Regions from separate parts of the Homo sapiens genome. Here region 2 is linked to region 1. Evidence: promoter capture Hi-C in human tissues and cell types (Jung and others, 2019). All regions are on one chromosome and are shown on one strand. The core of a region is centred on a gene start or on the middle of the fragment in contact, and the rest is flanking DNA. Distances in the headings are between cores, read along the strand shown. Region 1 holds the start of DSEL (dermatan sulfate epimerase like). Region 2 has its middle 160 kb from the start of TMX3.

Region 1 (5,505 bases), core at 2,057-4,556:
GTGGTGTGAGCTGGGGATCATACCAGATGTATTCAGTGTGAAGAGTACTCCACCTTTGGGCAGTTGAAGGAACCATCGGTCCATCTTTAGGTCGGTGCTTTCTAATTTGCTGAGCTAACCAATTTCCAGCTCCATTCTTTAAGATGAACTTATCCAAGAAAACTAGCTGGCTTTCTGGACCATAAAACCAATTATAATTGGAATCTGCTATACCCACAGTTCTTTGGAAGCCAGGTAAAAGGGTGGCATAATAGAACCAAAAGTGCATCTTTAACCAGTTATTATCCAAGTTGTTGATATTAAAATGGCGCTGGGCCAGAAAAACATACTGTGTGACGGATTTAGCTGTGTAGCTTCCATAGGCCACACCTTCATCCAAAGAACCATCAACAATATGATTCAATAGAAACATTGTCTTTTCCATGACATCCACTACAGCCTGTTTCCATATATTTGCTTTAGATCCTTTATCTACTCCAGTCACCAAGGCCCCTGTGAGTAATGCTATCATATTAGTGGCTTGGTGGTTATGGAGAAGCTGTTTGCCCCATGAGCGGACCTTGGAATACTCGTACATTTCCTCAGTAATAACCCATATTTTTTCCAGGTATTTTTGTCTTCGATGATTATCTAATAAGTTATATAAAAAGTCAAAGGCAGTGGCAAAACCTGTTAAGGAATGGCCAATTGGAACCTCATCTCCTGGTGCATTCTCTACTAGCCAGTCTTTGTAGCCAACCATCCTGTCCATATATTCCAAGACAAATTCAAAGGCAACTTTGTCTTCTGGGCATAACAAACAGTACAATGCTAAAGGAGGCAGATTGTTACCATAAATTTCATTCCACTTGGCAGCAAAATCAGCATGCTTTGGTGGAGGTAGGTAGTATGTTGGGTTGGACAGCATAACTGTCACTGCACTTCTGATAGCTCTAAAAAGATGCAAATGGCTTGCACGAGACTTTTGTCTCATTGCTTGGATTTCTCCAGCATCAAAATATAAACTTGGATGAAGCATACTTTTCTTCAGCTTTTGGTTGGGTCTGAAATCTTGCACTTTCTGTGTTTTAAACTGATCTATATCATCTGTGAAAACTGCCCATTCGGAATAATTGCTCACAGATTCCTCAAAAGTAGAGAAAGCAAACATCAATAATGCTAAGAATAGTAAATGTCCTGTAAACATTAACGCCATGATCCATGGGGGAGCTCCTCCCTTAGGCATACATGTCAGATATGATGCTCAATGTGTTTCCCATCTGGTTAGTATAAAACATACAGTAAAGGCCTTGATAAGACAAAGACTGTAAATCTGATATGCTGTGAAATCCAGCTGACATTCAGTACATTTTAAGCAAGTGCAGTTGCCAAAAAGAGAAAACTTAAATTGTATATCTCTGTCCCTGGCACAGTTTTGCTTCCAGTAAAACTTTGAATAACGTTAAAATCTCTAATTTTTCCATAATACACAGGGAAGTGATACAGGTAAAAAACACTATGAATTTAGCATTTACCTCCTTTACTTAAATCTATTTAACACAAAGAGTTGGAACACACATTGTAAAAAAAGAGAAAAAGCACTCCAAAATTCAAATTAAGAGTCATTTCTAGCACAGAAAACCATCACTGGTGATAAGCTCACCACACATGTATGATGCATTTGTGTATGTTTGCCCAAAGAAGATGATGAAGTACTGACATTCTTCGAGTGAGTGGACTCAGTTGTCATTCCTCTCAACTTTTTATACTTCTTGTCTTGTGAATACGTTTTTCTTTCATTTATGAGAGAGAAACATCCTCAACAAGTGATCAAAGTCTTAGTTGGTTTTTAAAAATTCAAAATTCTTGCCTTCATTTCAAATATTTTTCAGGCTTACTTACTCATCAGCCTATTATGACAAAGAGAAATCATGTTCACATCTTCTTTTATCAGCTTCATGTGTACAAACATAAAAATGGAATATCTTCAGTCACCTAGATACTTCTCGTCCGATCATGAAGTAACCGCCAACGGGGAAAGAAAATTCCCCTTTCAGCAACAGTGAGGTCTCTCTTCTGCTCTTTTTTCATGACACTTTTCTGGGGATGGGGGACAAAATAAAAATTCTCTGAGGCTTCAGGTATGCTGAGAATGAATATAAACTGATGACTTAAACATTCTGCAATCACTTAATAGAAATTTTAGAATCACAGTAAAATCTCATATTATCTGCAACCTAAGCTAGGGCAAGTGATTTTTTTCTTATCCATTTACACGCACTTATTTGGAAACCAGTGACCGTCAGCAGAAGACAAGCAACTAACAATACAAAATATACAAGATAGAACTCTCCCGACAATATCTATAGTTTAACGCCACTAACGTGGCTTCAGTCACTTAAAAAATGTTTGTATTCAAATGCAGTTTACACAAAGATGAGTCCTGCTATCCTTGTTATTTCTTGTTCCCAAGGACCGAGGGACAAAAAACTGAAAGTTGAAAAGATCTTTTTTTTTTTTTTTTTTTTTAATTCCGGGGGAAGGTTTAGAGTTCATGGGATCAGAAGGTATCTTCCTAATGAGAACTACTCGGACCAGTCACTTTTCTCGGCGGGGTAACCGCGAATCGTGACCAGGCGCCAAGCCGAGGGGCGGGAGCTCCGCGCTCGGCGCTCACCTGTGGCCGAGTCCCTGTCCTCAGGTGGAGCCGCCAGAGGGAGCTCGGACCCCGGTGTCGAAAGACGCCTCTCCGTGCCCGTCCGCGGCTGGAAGAACCTAAGCAAGTTTCAGTCTTGGACAAGTCTCCCCTCTGTAGGAAACATTCAGGCTAGGAGTTTCCTGATCCGCCCCGCCTGTTGCATTTTTTCACTGGCGTCCTCCGACCCTGCCGCCCCCATTCTCCGCTCCCCGCTCTGGGGCTGAGTGAGGCAGGATGGCGAGAGACCCCTGAGCCACCAAGTCCGCTTACCTCAGGCAGATCCCGACGGGGGCTCGGCGCCGCACTGGGCCCCAAGGGAGACGGAGGTGGAGAGTTCCAGAAAACTGCTCTGCACGGCGGGCCAGGCTCCCGCGGGGCTCCGCAAGACCCCCGCGTCGTCTCCCGCGCTACGGCAGGCGCTGCCCCAGCTCGGTCTCCTCAGCCGCGCTCGGTCCCCGCGACCCGCACGGCCCGGACACGCCCGCCCTCAGGAAACGCCGGACGCTTGTGGGGGCAACCACGGACCGCAGGACAGAGACCCGCGGGCGGCGGGTTCTCTCGGTGGCGCCGTATCCAGAGCAGCGCCCGCGTGCCCAGGCGGTGATGTCGCCGCGGCCGAGGATCCTCTGTGCCAGCTCCGGCCGCGCAGCCCGGGGAGGGTGAGACGGCGACGCGGGCCGGCAAGCGGGGGCGGGGCGGAGGCAGGACGGGGCGGGGTTGAAGGCGGGGCTGAAGGCGGGGCCTCAGGGAAGGCGAGAGACAGCGACGCTGGCTGGCGGGCGTGGGGCGGGACGGAGACAGGACAGGGCGGGGTCAGAGGCGGGGCTTCGGGGAGGACGGGAGGAGCCGTGAGCAGGCCGGCGGCGGGCGGGGCGGGGCCGAAAGCAGGTGAGGCGGGGCCAAGCGCCCCGGGTTTCTAAGCGGAGGAAGCTCTAGGCGTTTGTGTTCTGGGCTTGCAGCGGTGGCCGCGCGCTCCCGGAGGAGTCGAGCTGGAGGAGGGGACAGTTTGGGAGTGCGAGAGTCTAAAGACGCTGCCAGGCTGGCGTTAAAACCTTTTGGTTATGGGAAGACGACAACTATATAATAGAGCCATAGTGGGGGCTGTGGGATTGACTCAAATGATGGGAGGAGCTGGAGTGGGAGGGGATAAGCCCTGGGACGACAGAAATCATCCTTTTGGAAAGAGCAAGGGCTGGGGAAGGAGGGAATGAGCACTCCCTTGGAACTGAGAGGCAGCCTGGCTGAGCTTGCTGTCCTTTGGAAAAGCAAAACCGAAATACCCAGATTAATATAGGAGGACAACTTCTGTAGCCCAGATGCTAACAAAGATCAAGGGAAAACAGAAAAGACTAATCAGCTTTACTGATGGAAAACAATTTCTCAGGCAGTATAAATAGGGGAAGCATGGGACAAACAAGTAGAAGGAGCCTCTTATTTAAAAATGGGACCTGGTATTCGGTAAAGACCTACATGCAGACAGGAGAAGGCAGTGTGCCCCGGCTACTACGACATGTGAGTGCAGTGCCAGGTCGTGGAAATCCTAGAGCAGGCTGGGACTCCTGTTGCACTCCACACATGGAGCTTCTCACAGATAGCTGAGATGACACTTTGGCATAAACCAACCCAAGCTCTGACCTCAAATGTAAAAAATAATAGCTTAGTAGTAATAAAAATACAGGGAAATATCAAGCTTCACAAATGAACAATTCCATTCTCAGTTGGGGATTAGTAACACATTCAGTCTCTTCATTTCCCATACTATTTTGGTAATATTTAATAAGATATATTTTAACATTTTAAAAATAAATGTCTTGCTTAGATCATTTGCTGCTGAAAATCAAACAGTAGACGACTGCTAGCAGAATAAATTTCAAATCATTTAACTTTGAGGTGAAATGTGGCCTCTAACTCCTCATCACTCTTCTGTTTTGGCCCCGTAGTAACCCCTAGCCCAGTCCAAATAGCCACACTTGCTTTTGCTTGGGTGCTTCAGTAACTATGCTTATTCCATTCTTTCCCTCACAGTGTCCTTTACCCAACCACCCCACTTACTAGTTAAAATTCTTCTGACTGTTGAAATTATCTGATCATCCAGGTCTCAACTCAGATGCTTACATTCTTCTGTAAATAACTCCTAAGTTTCCCTAGCCAGAATGTATTACTCCAGAACTATATCATTTGTACCTATATTCGGCCGTTTAGGTTGTTTATTTTCTGCTTTCTATTTCAACTGGTTGACTCCTGTACCCTATTCAAAACTCCTTCAAGTCATGAGTAGCACTCAAGTCCCCTTTGTAAGTACTATATCTGCTTTTGAAATGAGTTGAACCTCGAACAATTGGGCTGATACAGAGCCTCGTCTCCTCCACTGAGGTTTATTCCCAAACAAGGATCCTCTTCTGACACAACTTCCTGTAAAATCTGGATTGTGCCTCTACATGGCCCCTGATAGAGGAAGAGGACCCATGGCCTCCAACCACATTTATGAGAGAGTAGAGTTGGGGGAAACGGGGAGCTGACTCCAGAGATTCCTATCTGTTTGCAGAGGGGAGCCTAGAATTTAGGGTTAGTAAACACAGCTACTAGATGTACAGAACATTTCTCAGAACAAAGTGTGGGGCAGGGTTATTTCTATGGATTCAAAGTGTCTCATGATGCGAGGGCAAGGTGAGTCAGAGAGAATTAATGCGCGAACATCTGCCAGGCAAATATTCTTCCAATGTTGTTTTCAGATTTTGAAATATCAGTATGATCATTTTCACTTTAGAGAAGAATGAATTCAGGTACCGACATTGTGGCCTTTCAGCTCTGCCCCATGCATCTGTGCT
Region 2 (5,505 bases), core at 1,440-3,939, 1.0 Mb after region 1:
ATTTTACCCAGCCCCTGTTCAAGATGGAGTCACTTTGGTTCACATGCCTCTGATAGTATCTAAGTCTTGTGAAAGGATTTGGCATTGTTGATGTGGGGCTAGTGAAAACCAAGGGAGGAAAGAGCACTTGTCTTACAGTGTTTTATTCATTAACTCACCTTATGTATATGTGTAGATGTAGATACAGCTATGGATGTAGATTTATATAGAGAAATATAGCAACTCTTAGGTATGGCACTATGATAGTTATTAAAGGGTATTTTAAAAATTGTTGCTTTCCAGAGTTTAAAATAATGTTAGCAAAACAAGATAATTATATAGTCTTTTGGATGTTTATTCATACTTTTTGGGTAGTGTGAATATAGAGAACAAATGTATCATGGTTTAAAACATCAGAATTTGATTTTTTTTCTCTAAAAATTATATACTAGCAAATACTATTGTTCTTAATTCAACAGATTAAATTATCATAAACACTGACTATGCTTGAAAAATAGAACTTTTCAGCCAGGTGTGGTGGCTCATGCCTGTAATCCCAGCACTTGGGGAGGCCGAGGCGGGCGAATCACCTGAGGTCAGATGTTTGAGACCAGCCTGCCCAACATGGCAAGACTCCATCTCTACTAAAAATTAAAAAAAAAAAAAAAAATTAGCTTGGCGAGGTGGCGGGTGCCTGTAGTTCCAGCTACTCAGGAGGCTGAGGCAGGAGAATCACTTGAACCCAGGAAGTGGAGGTTGCAGTGAGCCGAGATCGCACCGCTGCACTCAAACCTGGACAAGAGTGAAACTCTGTCTCAAAAAAAAAAGAAAAAAGAAAAAGAAAATAGGACTTTTCCAAAAATTTAAAAGTGGGTTTAAAGAATGTCTGTGCAGCAGCTTTAAGATTTGTTAAACAAATGGATCCATGCAAACAGAAGCAATTAGTATTATAGAGTTTTCATTTTGTAAATTTGCCAGACTAAATATTTTATTAAATTTGTGTCTGCTTTAAAAACTCTTGCTGCTAAAACAGTTTTGTAAATATAAACCATATTGAGAGGGGAACTGGAGTGGCTAACTTCACTCAGCCCACCGCTGGCCACTCTCCTCGTGAGAGGGAGCATGTAAGCGAGTGCAGGAACCAGAGGGAAGGAACACTGAAACCGGCCAGTCACTCCTTTCTGGCAGGAGCAGGCTCTATGCAGGCTCTGCAGCAGTGTCCAAGCTCCTGCCCTCTTGGCACTCAGGTTCTTGTCTGGCCTCCAGGAAGAATCAGGTCGCACAAATGGATTGAAGGGTAGTGTATGCAGAGGATTTTAATGGGTGATAAAAGTGGCTATCAGAGGGGTGGGGAATTGGAAAGGGGATGGTGTAGGAAGAAGGTGATCTATCCCTGAAGACATACTGTCTGAAGTTAGCCGCATCTATCTGTAGTCTCTGATGCTAAGTTGCTGCTTCTCTGCCTACTGCTTAGCAGCTTGTATCCCTCTGCTAGCTAAAGTCTTTTAGGTAGTGTGAATGGGCACAAGATAGAGGCATGGCAGGTCAAAAAAGCAACATATGGGTGGAAAAATGGGGTCAGCTGTTTTCACTTAGAACCAGGTTCCAGGCTTAAGGGTGGATGTTTAGCCAGGAGCCCAGCTGTTCTGTATCAATACTATTGTCTAATTTCATCACGGCGCTTCAAAATGATACAAAAAAGACTCGTGACATAAAATTATATATATATATAACTGGGCACAGTGGAATGCATCTGTACTTCCAGCTACTCAAGCGGCTGAGGCAGGAGGGTCTTGAGCCCAGGAGTTTGAAGCTGTAGTGTGCCATGATCATACCTGTGAATAGCCACTGTACTCCAGCCTGGGCAACATAGGGGACCCCATCACTAAAACAAACATATGACAACCAGAAAAAACCCACTTCATATATATGTAATACACACACACACATGAATTTCATGTCAAGGATGAGGAACAGTAATTGTAAGGAGAATGGACTTGGATGACTGTAGCTGAAAGTAACCTGTGGGAAAAGACAATGAAAGTCTGAGGCTCAAGGTGTAAGTCCAGGGGTTTTGTTAGCAACATTTGAGAACAGAAAAGGCTCAGGCCCAGGACTTAATCACAAGAGCAGCAGAAGTGGAGAAAATGTTGGATTCTCAGCTCGGAAGGTCTTCCAGATGAAAGTCAGAACACTGAGTGATTAGAAGTGGCAGCATGAAATAAGAGCTGCAGCACGAGTTAATGCACCTGAAAATGTGAATTCGCCGATTTCTATGAGCCTCTAGGCCTGCAGAATTAGCCAACTGCTTTGGATTTAAGGAGAATGCCACCCCTCCTACCCCTATTTCTTGAAGAAAATGACTTTCTTGCCGGTAAATATATGACCCTTAAGGGCAAACACATATTAAAAATAAGAGGCTTAATTCTGGCTGTTAAAATAAGGGAAAAGACTCCCCCACCCCCTTTTTTTAGAGCTTTGACTTTAGAACATGTGTTAAGTTTTCTCTTTGAAATATATGTAAATCTTTTAAAAAGCTAAATAAGCCTCTTGCCCACTTTATAACCCAGGAATGTCTTTTTTAAGAACCTGGGAATCAACCCTTTGAAATGTGACCATGAGGGAAGACAGCAGCCCTAGCACCCAGTTTCTAAAGAAGGTAGGAAACCTAACTTCATGGCACCTTGCTCCAAGTTGCAAAACTACAATACCTCTAGTCAGAAAGATGTGAGACATTTATGTTTCCTTTGGACAAAGTCAATTAGCAAACACAGATGGCCACCCTAATTACCAGATAAGCTTAGGATGAACGACATGTGACAAATGGTAGTGCCAAGTCCTTTTACTTGAGGGCTAATTATTATATATCTTGAAAACTTGAGCGTAATGTGTTGTGTTTGCCTGCTATATCAAAGGGTGAGATGTCTTTCTGGTTTTGCAATCTCTTAGCAGATTTCCTGTAATGCGCATCACATTATGGTTTAATGATTATTCAATAATGAAACTGTTTTCTTTCTTTTCTACTTCTATGGAGAGGTTTTCTACGTTCAAAGGAAATTGTGTTTTAATTATATTTCCCCAACAACCCCATCTCCAGGTCAGCCCTTCTCTTCCGGCCACCAGATCAATAACTGACAAGAGAACTGCTGGGTGTCCTGAGGAGTAGTTGGGGCCACAGGCCAAAGGAGCCACAGGACAAGGCTAACATGAACCCCAGGAACTGTGTGCAGCTGGAATGAATCCGATGGTGGTGGATCAATAGAAGAAGAGCATAGAGATGGATATGAGAATTCTCAATCTGGGAACACTCCCAGAAGATAGGATTTAATCCCCTAGTAGGAGTCCCAGGAGGCCATTCTAATATTACCACTGGGTAACTTTGAAGCTTAGAAAAAGTGATGCTTCATATCAACTGTAGTTAAAATAGAACAACAATGGCATACTCTACAGGATGACTGCAAATGATTTATAAAAGAGGATTTGCTAAATTGGTTCTATATCTGAGATCCAGTACCCCTGCCTACTCTGCTTCTCAGGAGGACCTGCCTGAAACTCTACATATCAAAGAAATAAGGAAGGCTGATCTCAGTTTATCAGAACAATAAGGAATGTCTATCTTACCAGTATCATTATCAAGTGATAGCTATCTTCTATAGACCTGGGATGATGGCAGGAGAGGCTCTTACAGAAATGTGCTCCCTGATAGCAATGGGAATAATAGAAACCTCGAATAAGAAAGGCAAGGCAGAGGACCTTCATGGGGGCAGTTATCATAATGAGCAGCCAAAATGGTACCTGAGCATGGGAGTTATGTGAATAGTTAACAGAAGATGACTTTCCCAGGAGCAAGATGTATGGGCATCAGATAAGAATACTGTTCTATCTATACAATCAAACTAATTCAAGAATGGGTGATTAGGAGTTGAGAGCAGTCATCCCCAAGAAAGATCACAAACTTTTGGCTAGTTTTAGGACATAAGACAGTTTTCATGGAGCCCATTTCTTGGAAAGAGAAGCTGGATTGCAAGCAGGTTGGACCCTGAAACACCACGGTAAATGAATAAGGCAATAATTCCCCAAGCTCATCCCCAAAAGACCTATGGCTATTTACTCAGCAACTATGTATTCTGAACAAGGGGAATACTTATACATTACTCATACAATACTCATACATTGATAACTAGAAACACAAAGCATCATCACATCCCTCTCTGAAAGAGTGCAGGTTATATGAGGGCCACGTTATAGAATTCTGGCCCAGGACCAACTCACATTGGGTCCTCTGGGGCCATGGACTCTACTAGTGGATTGAAAATAATTAGTAGTTGGCAGAACCTTCAGGGTCCTTGGTTTGGTGGGCTAAGAATTCTCACAGGAGGAAAGACCAGTTGAAAGCCTCTGAAATCACCTTTACCCCTGCAGTCAAGATAGCAGATCAAACATTAATGTTGCATTGTAGAGTCTAGGGTAAAGATTAGAACCAGCGTTTGGACCTAAAGGTTACTGGAGTGGTGGTGCCATTTTATCTCCATTTAATTCATTGAGCTAGATCAGAGATTGGCAAACTTTTTCTGTAAAGAGATAGATAGTAAATACTTTAGGTTTTGTGGGACATTCAGTCTCTGTCCCAAACATTCAACTCGGCCTTTGTAGCACAAGCAGCCATAGACAATACCTAAATAAATTAGTGTAGCTGAGTTTCAATAAAACTTTATTTACAAAATCAGGCAGAGGGACAGATTTAGCCTAGAGACTATAGTTTGCTGACTCATGATACAGACAATATTTAAAAATAATAGCTCATATTTATTGAGAATTTATTATATTTCAGGCATGATCAAGTTTATAAAATATTTATTAAGCTATGTCTTACTGTAGCCCTATAATTTATTATTATCTTCATTTAAAAAATATAGCCCTTTTGGGAGGCTGAGGCAGGCAGATCACGAGGTCAGGAGATTGAGACCATCCTGGCTAACACGGTGAAATCCTGTCTCCACCAAAAAATACAAAAAATTAGCCAGGCGTGGTGGCAGGCACCTGTAGTTCCAGCTACTCAGGAGGCTGAGGCAGGAGAATGGCATGAACCTGGAGGGCGGAGCTTGCAGTGAACCAAGATAGAGCCACTGCACTCCAGAGTGGGTGACAGAGCGAGACTCCATCTCAAAAAAAAAAAAAAAATAGCCCTTTTTGTTATGCATAAAATAGCAAAAAAATTTTGATCTTCAATAAGGAAAGAAAGCAAACCAATAGAGAAATGGGCAAATGATATTACTGGCTGATTCACAGAAGACAAAATTCCAATAGTGCTTAAACAGGTAAAAATATACCCAATGAGATATTGCTTCATCCCTATGAGTATCACAAGAATGATAGATTATATTCCTATTTAAAATATACACTTTTCATCCCTGAAAGAGGAGCCTACTTCTCTACCGCATTGATATTGGGCTTGGTATGTCACTTAAAATTGTATGTGACTTAAAAATTATATCAAGGAGTGTTTCTCCTGATATCAAGCTTGGC

The links. The method cuts DNA at HindIII sites, captures the fragments that hold promoters and counts their contacts. A contact is called where the count stands out against the background at its distance.
Region 2: a fragment that was not itself captured here is called in contact with the fragment with the promoter of DSEL in region 1 in 1 of the 25 tissues and cell types used here (bladder).

The regions. Positions count from the first base shown.
Region 1 is chr18:67,513,414-67,518,918 of GRCh38, forward strand. It overlaps DSEL (dermatan sulfate epimerase like), which reads right to left and starts at 3,307. Exons shown (of 2, transcript NM_032160.3): 1 at 2,948-3,307; 2 at 1-2,079. The coding sequence starts at 1,195. DSEL-AS1 (DSEL antisense RNA 1) reads left to right here and starts at 3,133. Exons shown (of 5, transcript NR_033921.1): 1 at 3,133-3,336. The HindIII fragment of the contact is 11,831 bases long and covers 1-5,505 here.
Region 2 is chr18:68,556,198-68,561,702 of GRCh38, forward strand. No RefSeq gene overlaps it. Among named protein-coding and RNA genes, the nearest start is that of TMX3, 160 kb to the right of the region's middle. The HindIII fragment of the contact is 3,483 bases long and covers 949-4,431 here.